Linked DNA regions of Homo sapiens: regions 1, 2 and 3 are each linked to region 4. Evidence: promoter capture Hi-C in 16 types of primary human blood cells and fetal thymus (Javierre and others, 2016). All regions are on one chromosome and are shown on one strand. Each heading gives the region's core, a stretch centred on a gene start or on the middle of the fragment in contact. The rest is flanking DNA. Distances are from core to core; before and after follow the strand shown.

The links. The method cuts DNA at HindIII sites, captures the fragments that hold promoters and counts their contacts. A CHiCAGO score of 5 or more calls a contact.
Region 1: a fragment that was not itself captured here is called in contact with the fragment with the promoter of EMX1 in region 4 in 10 of 17 cell types (endothelial precursors, megakaryocytes, naive CD8 T cells and 7 more); the score reaches 10.0 in endothelial precursors.
Region 2: a contact is called between a fragment that was not itself captured here and the fragment with the promoter of EMX1 in region 4, in 1 of 17 cell types (endothelial precursors). The highest score is 7.1, in endothelial precursors.
Region 3: a fragment that was not itself captured here is called in contact with the fragment with the promoter of EMX1 in region 4 in 2 of 17 cell types (fetal thymus and total B cells); the score reaches 6.3 in fetal thymus.

The regions. Positions count from the first base shown.
Region 1 is chr2:73,190,836-73,193,604 of GRCh38, forward strand. No RefSeq gene overlaps it. Among named protein-coding and RNA genes, the nearest start is that of NOTO, 10 kb to the right of the region's middle. The HindIII fragment of the contact is 316 bases long and covers 1,339-1,654 here.
Region 2 is chr2:73,210,253-73,212,952 of GRCh38, forward strand. NOTO (notochord homeobox) reads left to right here. Exons shown (of 3, transcript NM_001134462.2): 3 at 519-2,261. The coding sequence ends at 677. Among named protein-coding and RNA genes, the nearest start is that of SMYD5, 2.6 kb to the right of the region's middle. RefSeq lists a silencer at 2,457-2,526. The HindIII fragment of the contact is 2,592 bases long and covers 26-2,617 here.
Region 3 is chr2:73,290,485-73,293,308 of GRCh38, forward strand. It overlaps EGR4 (early growth response 4), which reads right to left. Exons shown (of 2, transcript NM_001965.4): 1 at 2,698-2,824; 2 at 445-2,297. The coding sequence ends at 973. Among named protein-coding and RNA genes, the nearest start is that of EGR4, 1.7 kb to the right of the region's middle. RefSeq lists an enhancer at 655-1,350. The HindIII fragment of the contact is 2,133 bases long and covers 447-2,579 here.
Region 4 is chr2:72,916,116-72,918,893 of GRCh38, forward strand. It overlaps EMX1 (empty spiracles homeobox 1), which reads left to right and starts at 1,404. Exons shown (of 3, transcript NM_004097.3): 1 at 1,404-2,257. The coding sequence starts at 1,738. RefSeq lists silencers at 1-59, 1,200-1,619, 1,690-1,809 and enhancers at 151-768, 769-1,385. The HindIII fragment of the contact is 6,474 bases long and covers 1-2,778 here.

The DNA of each region.
Region 1 (2,769 bases), core at 247-2,746, 270 kb after region 4:
GAAGGAAGGAAGGAAGGAAGGAAGGAAAAAAAAGAACGAAAGAAAGAAGGAAGGAAGGAAGGAAAGAAAGAAAGGGCTTTGACTAGTTTGCTGCTAAAGTCCCAACCAGCTGTATAAAGTGCTCCAAGTGAATAGAAAACATACTTATCTCACTGCACAAGGGTTATTTGCCCTGGCTGTCAACCTTCCTCTCTGACTAATCCTTCTTCTTCTGTCCTTGCTGTCCCTAAACATAGCAGTCCCCAAGGGATCCATACAAGCCCCTTTCTCTTTTACTACAGCATTTTCTCTCCGTGTGATCTCACCCACTCTCATCCCTTGATAGACTTCCCTCTCTTCAGATGCCTCTGCAGAGGAAAGTGTCCTCCACAGAGCCCTCCTGGACCTATGAAGTTATTACTTTATCTATTTATTTATTTATTTATTTATTTATTTATTTTTGAGACGGAGTCTCACCTGTGGCCCAGGCTGGAGTGCAATGGCACGATCTCGGCTCACTGCAACCTCCGCCTCCTGGGTTCAAGCAATTCTCCTGCCTCAGCCTCCTGAGTGGCTGGGATTACAGGCATGCACCACCATGCCTGGCTAATTTTGTATTTTTAGTAGAGACAGGGTTTCACTATGTTGGCCAGGCTGGTCTTGAACTCCAGACCTCAGGTGATCTGCCTGCCTCGGCCTCCCAAAGTGTGGGGATTACAGGCATAAATCACTGCACCTGGCCTATGAAGTTATTACTAATCTCTCCATCCTTTGTACTCCCATAGAATCCATCCCTTTGGTTTGGCAGTTGCATTAGCTAGTTGTGGATGAGTCTCTCTGTCCCCTCCCTCCACCCTCACCGTAAGACTCTGAGCTCCCATTGGGCAGGAATTGTATATTTCATTGCACTTTGTACCCCTCATAAAACCCAACACAGAATAGGCCTCAAACAAGTAAATGTTTGTCGACTTCAGTCTAATTGAAGGGCATAGAATTTCAGAGAAAATCTTAAAGGCAGCATACATAAGAAAAAGTTAGGAAACACTAGGTAACTGCAAAGTGCAATGTGTTAGCTGTGCATTCCAGGGAGGGAGGAACAAACAACCAACCTTGTTTGCTCTTGGCCTGTCAGGTGCAGGGGAAGCAGGAGGGGCAGGGGAGGGGAGAGCAGGTGTGGGCTGGAGCTGAGACAGCCCAGGCAGGGGGTAGGGGGAGGTGGTATGGGGCCTCCCCAAGGCAGCTCTGGGGCCCTCTGACCCTGCAAGCTGGGCTTGACTTAGGGCACGTTGCATGGCAGCCCTCCATCCAGGTCCAACAAACTCCATCATCACCATTTAGCACCTTTCTTCTGCATGAAAAAGCTTCCCTTTGGAAAGACAAGGAAGAAGAAAAGAGAGAGAAAGAGAAAGGAAGGAATAGAGGGAAGGACAAAGAGAGGGGAGGGAAAAGAGAGAGAGAGAAAGAAAGAAAGAGAGATGAAGACCCTGCAAAAGGAGAGTGAAAAAGGAGAAAAGGGACAAGGATTCACAGGGTGTTGGGAAAGGGCAGCAAAGGGGCTTCCTAACACATCTTCCCCAGTGACTCTGAGATCTCAACCAGTGCTCAAAACGTTCTTCTTCCCTCAATCCAGAGAAGGAAACTCATTCTCTACTTAAGTGAGATAACCCAAGTGCAAAGCTTAAGTGATCTGTAAATATTACCCATTATTATTATTACCATTTTTCCCTCCTTCTCCTCCTTGCTACCCAGCTCACTTGCATATTAATGGGTTTAGACAAAAAAAAGGAAGGAAAATCCTTTAGTGGGGAAAGAGGGTTGGGAAGTGGGGAAGAATTTGGCTGGAGGACAGCTCGAGAGCTCCTGGACAAATTTATTTGTTCTTTTTAAATATTTTTATTTTAGTTTGGCCAACTGAGTCCCTGGCATGGACTAGGCCCTGAGGATACAGCAGGTCACAAGGGCCATGTGAATTTTTACAGTGTCTTAGAAATCAATAAGGTAATATCAATTACAATTTAAAAATATAAACTCTTACAGGTTTCTGTCCATTAATACTATTCAGGGATCTTTTTGTATAGAAATAAAAGAGCCAGTACACAATATATATTTAAAATAATGTTTCTTACCAGTTCTGTTTGTAGGGCAGAAGCAGAAAACAACCTGAATGCCTTTCAACAGAAGAAAGGTTGAATAAATTGTGGCACACCCATACTGTGGAACATTAAGCAGACACTAAAAAGAATGAGTTAGGTCTAAACTGGGTAGCTTGGAGGAATTTCCACAATTAAGTGAGAAAAAGAAAACTGATTGTTCAAGGTTGAGCGCCAAAATTAATTTCATCAGAAAATCCTGGATTGCTTCTAGGCACTGGAGATCTAGGGAATGCTTAAGTTGCCTCCAGGCTTTTGCTACTATAAAAGGTGCTACAATGTACATCCTTATACAGGAATCTTTGAAAAGGAATCTTTTGACATTTTAGTAGCTATTGCAAATTATTCTCCTGGCTGGGCTCAGCGGCTCACTCCTGTGATCCCAGCACTTTGGGAGGCTGAGGCAGGCGAATCGCTTGAGCCCAGGAGTTCAAGACTACGCTGGGTAACATAGTGAGGCCCCATCTCTATTAAAAAAAAAAAAAATCCCAGCACTTTGGGAGGCCAAGGCAGGCGAATCACTTGAGCTCAGGAGTTTGAGAACAGCCTGGGCAACATGGCAAGACCCCATCTCTACTAAAACTATAAAAAAATAGCTGGGCACAGTGGCACGTGCCTGTGGTCCCAGCTACTCAGGAGG
Region 2 (2,700 bases), core at 72-2,571, 290 kb after region 4:
TCCTTCCTGGTCCTCAAACACTCCAAGCTTGGTTCCATTTCAGAGCCTTCCTACAGGTTGTTCCCTGCCCTGCAGACCTGCTCTTCTCTGTCCCCATCAGGTGGGCCTCTCTCTCTTTGAGCCTCAGCTTTAATGCTGGCTCCTTAGGGAGGCCTCCTCTGCCCAAACCCCTGTTTGTACCCCCTTTTGTGTTTACATAGCTCTTTGTTTGTTTACATGTTTCTTGCCAGTGTTTCTTCACTAGCTCATGAGCTCCACGAGGGCAGGCAGCTTGCCTCTGTTGCTCACCACTGTATCAGCATCACCTAGGATGGTGCTTAGCACATACTGGAAACTCAGTAAATACTCAGATGAATGAATGGTGTCTGGAATTGTAGAAAGGGGTGTTTTGGAGGAGGTACCTCCCTGAGAAGGAAGAGCAAATATTGGCCAGGCAGAGAGGGGTGTTCACTCCAGGAATTAGGAAGCAGTGGGACCTGATGGTCACATTCTGATCTCTGCCCACTCTCCAATTATAGGTGAGAGTCTGGTTCCAGAACCGCAGGGTCAAGTATCAGAAGCAGCAAAAGCTGAGGGCAGCAGTTACATCTGCCGAGGCTGCCTCCCTGGATGAGCCTTCCAGCAGCTCCATCGCCAGTATCCAGAGTGATGATGCCGAGTCAGGAGTGGACGGCTGAAGACTGGGACAGAGGCCCTAGCCAGGCTGCCTGGACTAGTTCCTCCTGGGGGTACCCACTGGAGCTCCCTGCCTCACACCTCAACGAAAAGCCTCCTCAACCAGAAGAATCTGAGCTGTCAAGCAGGGACCCCCTTTTCTATACTGATTCCTGGAAACTGGAATAATGTAATGATTGGAGGCACAGACTCTGGCCTTCAGCTATGTCCTTGGCCAACCTATGGAACTTCCGAGCCTTTTTTCTTTATCTGTATAATGGGTGCATTCATAACTTAGATCACCCAGGGGTGAGAAGATGTCTGTAAAGCAATAATGTGCCATGCACAGTGCAAAGTGTGTGGTTACTGTTAAGGCTTGTAGGCCCCTGAGTAGAGAAGACCAACTGGAAAAAAAAAAGTTTTTTTCTTCTGCTGTCACCCCACAACAATCAACACAGAACACTTCTGTGACCAAACGTATAGGGGTGTACCCCACATTCCAACCTCCAGTTCAGCAAATTCTGACATGATCTACCTGCAGGTAGTGTCTGACCCCACAGATTCAGGGCTCATTCCACATGGCAGCCCCTCCTTTCTTTTTTTTTTGAGACAGACTGCAGTGGCGCGATCTTGGCTCACCGCCACCTCCGCCTCCCGGGTTCAAGCGATTCTCCTGCCTCAGCCTCCCGAGCAGCTGGGACTATAGGCGCATGCCACCATGCCTGGCTAATTTTTATATTTTTAGTAGAGACGGGGTTTCATCATATGGTCAGGCTGGTCTTGAACTGCTGACCTTGTGATCCACCCACCTCGGCCTCCCAAAGTGCTGGGATTACATGTGTGAGCCACCACCCGGCCCAACCCTGCCCTTTTTGTTTTTTATGGAGTCTTAAGGTCTACCAGTCATCAGTCAACTCATTAGCATATGAAAAGACATCACTTCAGAGATTCTAGGGATTTTAGGAGTTCTATGCCAGGAAATCGAGATGAAGACCAAATATATATTTCATAATATCACAGCTCCCCTCACCTGGGGGAGTAATACCTGTACCAGCAATTAATATTTTCCTGGCCTGGCTGTGGAGAAGGAACCTCTTTGAATAAGCATCTGGGCATAGAAGACTCTTCACCATCAGAAGGAGTTGAGAGCAAAGAAGAGAAGGTAGACTGTTTAGCCCACTTCACAAAGTTTCCCAACGTTTTCTTGTTTTGTCTGAACTGTTACCATTCTCAGAAGAAGCTCAGGCCCAGCAGCAAAGACAAGGACTCGCTCTGTCACCCAGACTGGAGTGCAGTGGTGCAATCATAGCTCACGGCAGCCTCAACCTCCTGGGCTCTAGTGATCCTCCCACCTTAGCCTCCTAAGCAGCTGGGACTACAGGCGCGTGACACCACGCCTGGCTAATTTTTAACATTTTTTGTAGAGACAACGTCCACTTGTTGCCCAGGCTGGTCTTGAATTCCAGGCTTCAAGTGGTTCTCCTGCCTTGGCCTCCCAAAGCCCCATCTTTTTATAGAATAATTTGTGTATGCCAAGGCTGGCATTTTGTCATAAACTCTGCTGTGTTTTCACAGGACAGTTATAATTTCCCCCTTTCATGACTCTGACTCATGGCTCCTTTTTCTTCTCAAGAATGTGCTCGATTTCTCTGAAAGAAGCCTGCTGCCAGGATTTGCAGAGCTGATTTCTGTAGCACAGACCATTCAGATTCTAGAATGGCTCTTGGGGACTGAGCTGAGGGATGGAAGGAAGCCTGCCCTGCCACCTGGTGGTGAGTGAGGGCACGGCCCCCAGCTGCTCTCGGGTAGGTTTGCCCCCAAGTACGTGGACTATTCGCTCCCTGACACCGGGCTGCAGGCTTGAGGGGACCCAGGGTCGGTTTCAAGAGCCTCTTCTCTGGCCCTGCCAACTATCTATCTCCCCCAAGTCCGTGGACTATTCGCTCCTTGACACCAGGTTGCAAGCTTGAGGAGAGGCAGGGTCAGTTTCAAGAACCTTTCTCTGTCCCTGCCAACTATCTATCTATCTATAATTATTTGATAGAT
Region 3 (2,824 bases), core at 263-2,762, 370 kb after region 4:
AAAATGAGGGTTGGCTTTGAAGTTGGACAGATTTGTTTGACCTGTCTGTTCCTAGCCTGGGTTAACTACATTGTTCCAGCAAGCTATCTACATTGCTTCCACATCTTTGAAATGAGGTATATGCCTGCTTTATTTGGGAATGCGAGGATTAAGGAGAATAATATATACATAATGTTGAACACCTACGCCTTTTAACCACTTTGAAGTTCCAGAAACACCTCCAGCCCTTAGGTGAGCTGTGATTAAATTCGTTCATTAACCCAACACACATTTACTGAATGCCTACTCTGTGCCGCAGTTCCTGGCAGGTGTGCCTGACAGTGGGTGTGTAATATGTTCAGGGTCTGTATCCCATGAGCGTGGGGATCTCCTTTATCTTCTGGCACATATGGTCCTGGGGGAGAAGCTAAGGGGAAGGGTCAGGAGCTTACATGGCAGATTCAGTAAGCTTTTAGCACAATAATTTTAATTGCAAAAATAAACAGTTTTGTCAACTGCTTGAGAGTAGCGTCTGCTTTACAAAAATTAACAACAACAAAAGGAAAAAAAACCCAAAGCAAAACGTTACATCCAATGGCTGCTGGATAAGACACTGCTGTACAAAGTCCCGCGCGAGACCGCCTTGGCGCTGCCCCAGCCTGTCTCTGGGGGTTATAGAGGAAGGCGTGGGGCGTGTGCCAGTTACAAAAGACTGTCTTGAATCCCAGGGTAGTGCCTATTCACTGGGTGGTCTCAGAAGACTTCCCCCAAAGCGCGGCTGACAAGGGTGACAGCGCCTGGACCGCGGGAACTGTCCGCGGAGCTGGTGCTGAATAGGGCGTGTGCGGCGGGCGCTTCAAGGAAACTGGAAGCGGGACCGGAGGCCGGCCCTCGGGCGTGCGAGGAGGAGTTGGAAGAAGAGCGGGGAGGGGAACGGCCCGGAACTCGTGCGCGCCGAACGGCGGCGCCCCAACCCATAAACCCATCTCTTGCTCAGAGAGAAGCGAAGGAGAGGCCCAGCGAGTAAAAGCCGAGGCCCTTGAGCCGCTCCTCGGCGCGCGCCTTCTGCTTGAGGTGCACCTTGCTGTGCCGTTTCTTCTCATCGCTGCGCGCGAAGCGGCGGCCGCACACGTCGCAAGCAAAAGGCTTCTCGCCGGTGTGGGTGCGCACGTGCGTGGTGAGGTGGTCGCTGCGGCTGAAGTTGCGGAGGCAGATGCGGCACTGGAAGGGTTTGTGGCCCGTGTGGATGCGCAGGTGGCGATTGAGCTCGTCGGAGCGCGCAAAGCTCCGCACACAACTCTCCACCGGGCAAGCGAAGGCCTTGGCGTGCGGCCGCGGGCAGAAGCAGCGCGTGCTGCATTTGCCGCCGCGGCGCCCCTTGCGTCGCGCCTTGGCCTGGGGGAAAGGGGTGGGCGGCGGCGGCGGCACGGGTGGTGCAGCCACGCCACTGCTTCCAGGGATGTCCGCCACCAGAGGTTTAGGGAAGTCCGCCGCGGCGGCGCTGCGAAGGCCCAGCGGGGAAAGCTGAGGCTGCGTACTGGCCAGAAACTCTCCGCCGTCGCCGCTACTCCCTCCCTCCCCACTAGGAGGGGTCAGGAGCCCAGGGAGGCCCTCAGCCCCCTCCCCTAAGTCACCCGGGGCCAGCGGGAAAGCGTCATAGGCCCCGCTGGGATAGAGTCTGTTGGCTGGGACGGCCGGCAGTTCCGCAGGGCAGCTGATGGACAGCAAGTCCTCAATCTTGGTCCCTATTACGGGAAAACGAGCCTCCGGGGCGGCCTGGTAGTCTCCCTGTGACCCACAGTTCCCTGGGGCCCCCACAGAAAGCAGCTCCCAGGGCGCGTAGGGACCCTTGAAGGCAGAGACAGCGTCCAGCGCTGGCGAGGCGGGAGGCGCCCGGAGGCCGGGCTTGACGTCGGGCGGGGAGAGCTGAGGCTCATACAGGCACTGCGAGGGGGCACCCGCGCAAGGCGAGGCCTCCCAGAACGCCTCTGGGAAAGGGGCAGCGCCCAGATCCGGGGAGTAAAGGTCCGGCGGACCCGGCAGCAAGGCATCGGACCCCGCAGGAAAAGGGGCATCCAGCGGGGATCTGGACGCTGCTGCCTCTGGACCGGGGAAGGGTGCCAGGCCTAAGATGCCCGACATGAGGTTGAAGAGTGCCTCCGGGTCGTGCGGGTGTTCGGGCACTGCCTGAATGAAGAAGCTACCGCTGTAGCTGAGGCCGGGAGGGGGTGTGGGCGCAGGCCCCTCCAGGAAGCAGGAGTCGGCTAAGTCCCCACTTGCGCCGCAGCTGTTCAAAGCCCAGCTCAAGAAGTCGCCTGCTGAGGAGGGAGCAGGAATCAGCTCTGGGCACATCAAAGGGTGCACCTGAGTCCACAGCCCCTACCTACAAAACTCTTGGTGCCCACGGATATACACAAAGTGCCTTTTGCACATTCTGATTCAGCAGGGGCCCGCATACGTCCCAAGGAGCACATAGAAACATGCACACGCAAAACACACGTGCACAGGCAAAAGGGCGCTCCGATAACCGCACAGGTTCCTGCGGAGGCGCTGGCGGCCCAGTGTGGGTGGGAATGGGGGTGCGCACCCCAGGACTCCTAAGCTTCCCATCGCCCCTATTCTCATAGCTCCAATGTCCCAGTCCCTCCTGGTTCTCAGGTATGGTGCGCCCCCGCGCTGCGCCGTCGTCGTCTGAGCACCCCTGCTCGCCCTCCTTACCTCCAGGGTAGCCGGTGGCCGCGGGAGCGTCCCTGGCAGGCAGCCGGGGCAATTCAGCGCTGGGTTCGGCGCAACAGCCTTCAGTGGACTTGACGAGGAGCGCGTCGGGTTCGGAAAACTCGCTAAG
Region 4 (2,778 bases), core at 154-2,653:
GCGCGCGGGGGCTTTTCGGAGCAGTCGAGTGGAAAATAGACTTTAACCCGCTTTGTGGCGGCCGGGGCGCCCTGAGCGCTCTCCAAACCACGGCTCCCGGCGCTCAGGCGGGCCGCTGCCAAGACCCGGCCTGGAGTCCCCGCAGAGTTGCGCGGCGCACGGACCCCGTGGCCTTGGGGCGTCAGGAGGCCCAACCCAGATCTGCGCGCCCAGGCAGCGCTCAGGCCGCTAGAATGGACCCCGGCAGCGGCGAGGAAGCGGAACTCTCTGCGGCTCCCTCTCCGCAGTGCGCCGGCAAGGTCCAGGTCCCAGCCTCCCCACCGCCGCCCGCGCCCTCCTAGGCCTCGGAGCGGCGCCTTTCTGCGGCCTCGAAGGTGGGGTGGGAAAGTTTGGGGAGTCCCGGCTCTCACAGCCTGTCGTGAGAACTGCCCCCGGGGAATTCGTCCGCCGTACGGAAAAACTGGCCGGAGCAGAGTCGTCCGCGGTTCCGCGGTCGCGGGTGGAAGGTGAAGGTCGAGGGAGGTCAGGCTGCTTCTGCGTGTCCTGACGGCTGGCGTGTTCTCTTGAGATGGGCTCGGGCTACTTGGCCAGCTTCAATTTAAGCCACAGTGTCTCCGAGGCCCTGACCTGGTCCGGCCCGCCGACACTTGAGCCCCCAGAGCCTCAGAGAAGGCGAGGGGGTGGATCTCCCAGTGCCGAGGCCCGCCGTCCTGGTCCAAGCCGGTCGCGGCACCGTGTCTGGGCACTGGAGCTGCTTCCAGCCCCGCGAACAGCTGGAGGGTGGCAGTGGGACCGCTCCGGCGGCTTCTCCCGCGCAGTGCCCCGCCTGGCCCCTTGTGAAGGGAGTGAGCGTCCCCTTTCCAGAGCTGTCCCCCGTGACATCCAGAAAACGCGAAACCTCAGGAACAAGGTCGCAGCTTCAGACCGCGGCCCAGGAGGCCGATGGTGGGTGAGTGGGAGAGTCCCGGAGAGCAGGGGGGCAGAGAGCTGGTTTTCGGGAAAACCAATGTGTTGGACCCCAAACATCCACCCTCCGCTCGGATCCAAGTTCTCTGAGAACTGAAACGACATCCCGGGACGAATGGGAGAGTTAGGCTGAGCTACACACCGGGGAGGGGAGGGTTGGAGTTTAGCCCCAAGCCCTTCGGACGCCTTCTTCGGCTCCCGCGTGGGTTGAGACGGCGGCACGGCCACCAGACTCAGCTAAAGGGCGGAGTCGCGAGGAGAAGCCAGTGGCGAGGGGAGGAGGAGGCCTGGATCTCCCCGCGAAGGCTCCAGTCCGGCTTTTGCCTCCGACTGCGGGCTCCCTCCCCACCCGCCGTCCCTCGCCCCGCCCCGCCCCGCCCCCCACCTTGGGGCAGGTGAGCGGCGGCCAATGGGCGAGCGCGGGGCAGGTGCCCGCTAACTCGCGCCTCGCAGCGCTGGGCGGCCGGGGCTGGGCAGGGCAGTGCGGGGACACCGGGGGCTGGGGTCGGTCCCAGCGGGACTCCGAAAGGAGGGAGACGAGCTCAACCCTCGGGCCTTACTGGCAGCTCGCAGCCTAGCACGGAGCCCGCGCCTGTGCGGGCGCCTGGAGCTGCCCGCTCCGCCGCAGCAGCCGCCGCGCCTGGCCGTACGCTGTGGCCGGACCCCGCGGTCGCTCGCTCACACACCCCTCGCCGCTCCGCGCCTGGCTCGCCCGCGGGGGCCGAGCGCGAGCGGGCGGGCGGGGGAGGTGAGGGGTGCGGGCGGGTGTGCATGTGCCTGGCTGGGTGCACACCCCGCAAGGCGGCGGCGCCAGGACGCGGAGCGCTCCCCAGAGCCCGGCTGCCTCGCACAGCTCCCGCGGCTGCGACCATGTTCCAGCCCGCGGCCAAGCGCGGCTTTACCATAGAGTCCTTGGTGGCCAAGGACGGCGGCACCGGCGGGGGCACTGGCGGCGGGGGCGCGGGCTCCCATCTCCTGGCGGCGGCCGCCTCCGAGGAACCGCTCCGGCCCACGGCGCTCAACTACCCTCACCCCAGCGCGGCCGAGGCGGCCTTCGTGAGTGGCTTCCCTGCCGCGGCCGCCGCGGGCGCGGGCCGCTCGCTCTACGGTGGGCCCGAGCTCGTGTTCCCCGAGGCCATGAACCACCCCGCGCTGACCGTGCATCCGGCGCACCAGCTGGGCGCCTCCCCGCTGCAGCCCCCGCACTCCTTCTTCGGCGCCCAGCACCGGGACCCTCTCCATTTCTACCCCTGGGTCCTGCGGAACCGCTTCTTCGGCCACCGCTTCCAGGGTGAGTGTCCACGCTGTGCCCGCCGAGGCGGCCGGCCGGCGCCCGTGCTGCGGCGATGCGGGGGAGGCTCGGGGGCGCGCGGGGCTGTTTAGAAGTTACTGCCGGGAAGGCTGCAGGTCCGCGGAGGTAGATTCCCAGGCAGGGAAGAGCTGTGCGGCATCCACCCGCGCCTTCGCCGCGTAGGTCTCCCTCCCAGGAAAGCAGGTGGAGACCTCCAGGCTTTTCTAGAAAATATACCAGTTCGGACGCAAGCCCAGGCGCGTCCTCGGAGCCTGTGCTGGCCCTCGCCACAGCCTGCCCAATTCTCTCTCCCAGCTGAGCCAGTCTCAGACCAGAGTACAACTCCTCCCGCTCTCCCTCCGCCCGGCTTAACCTCGCACCACGCTTCTCTCGCAAGTCCACCACCACCTCCGAGACCTCAGCCTTCGCTGGCGCGTCCGGGCGGGGGAAAGTCCATTCGCGTGCCCCAGCTCTGGGGGAAGCAAGGGCAGCAGGGAGGGCGAATCGGAGAGTTAATGTTC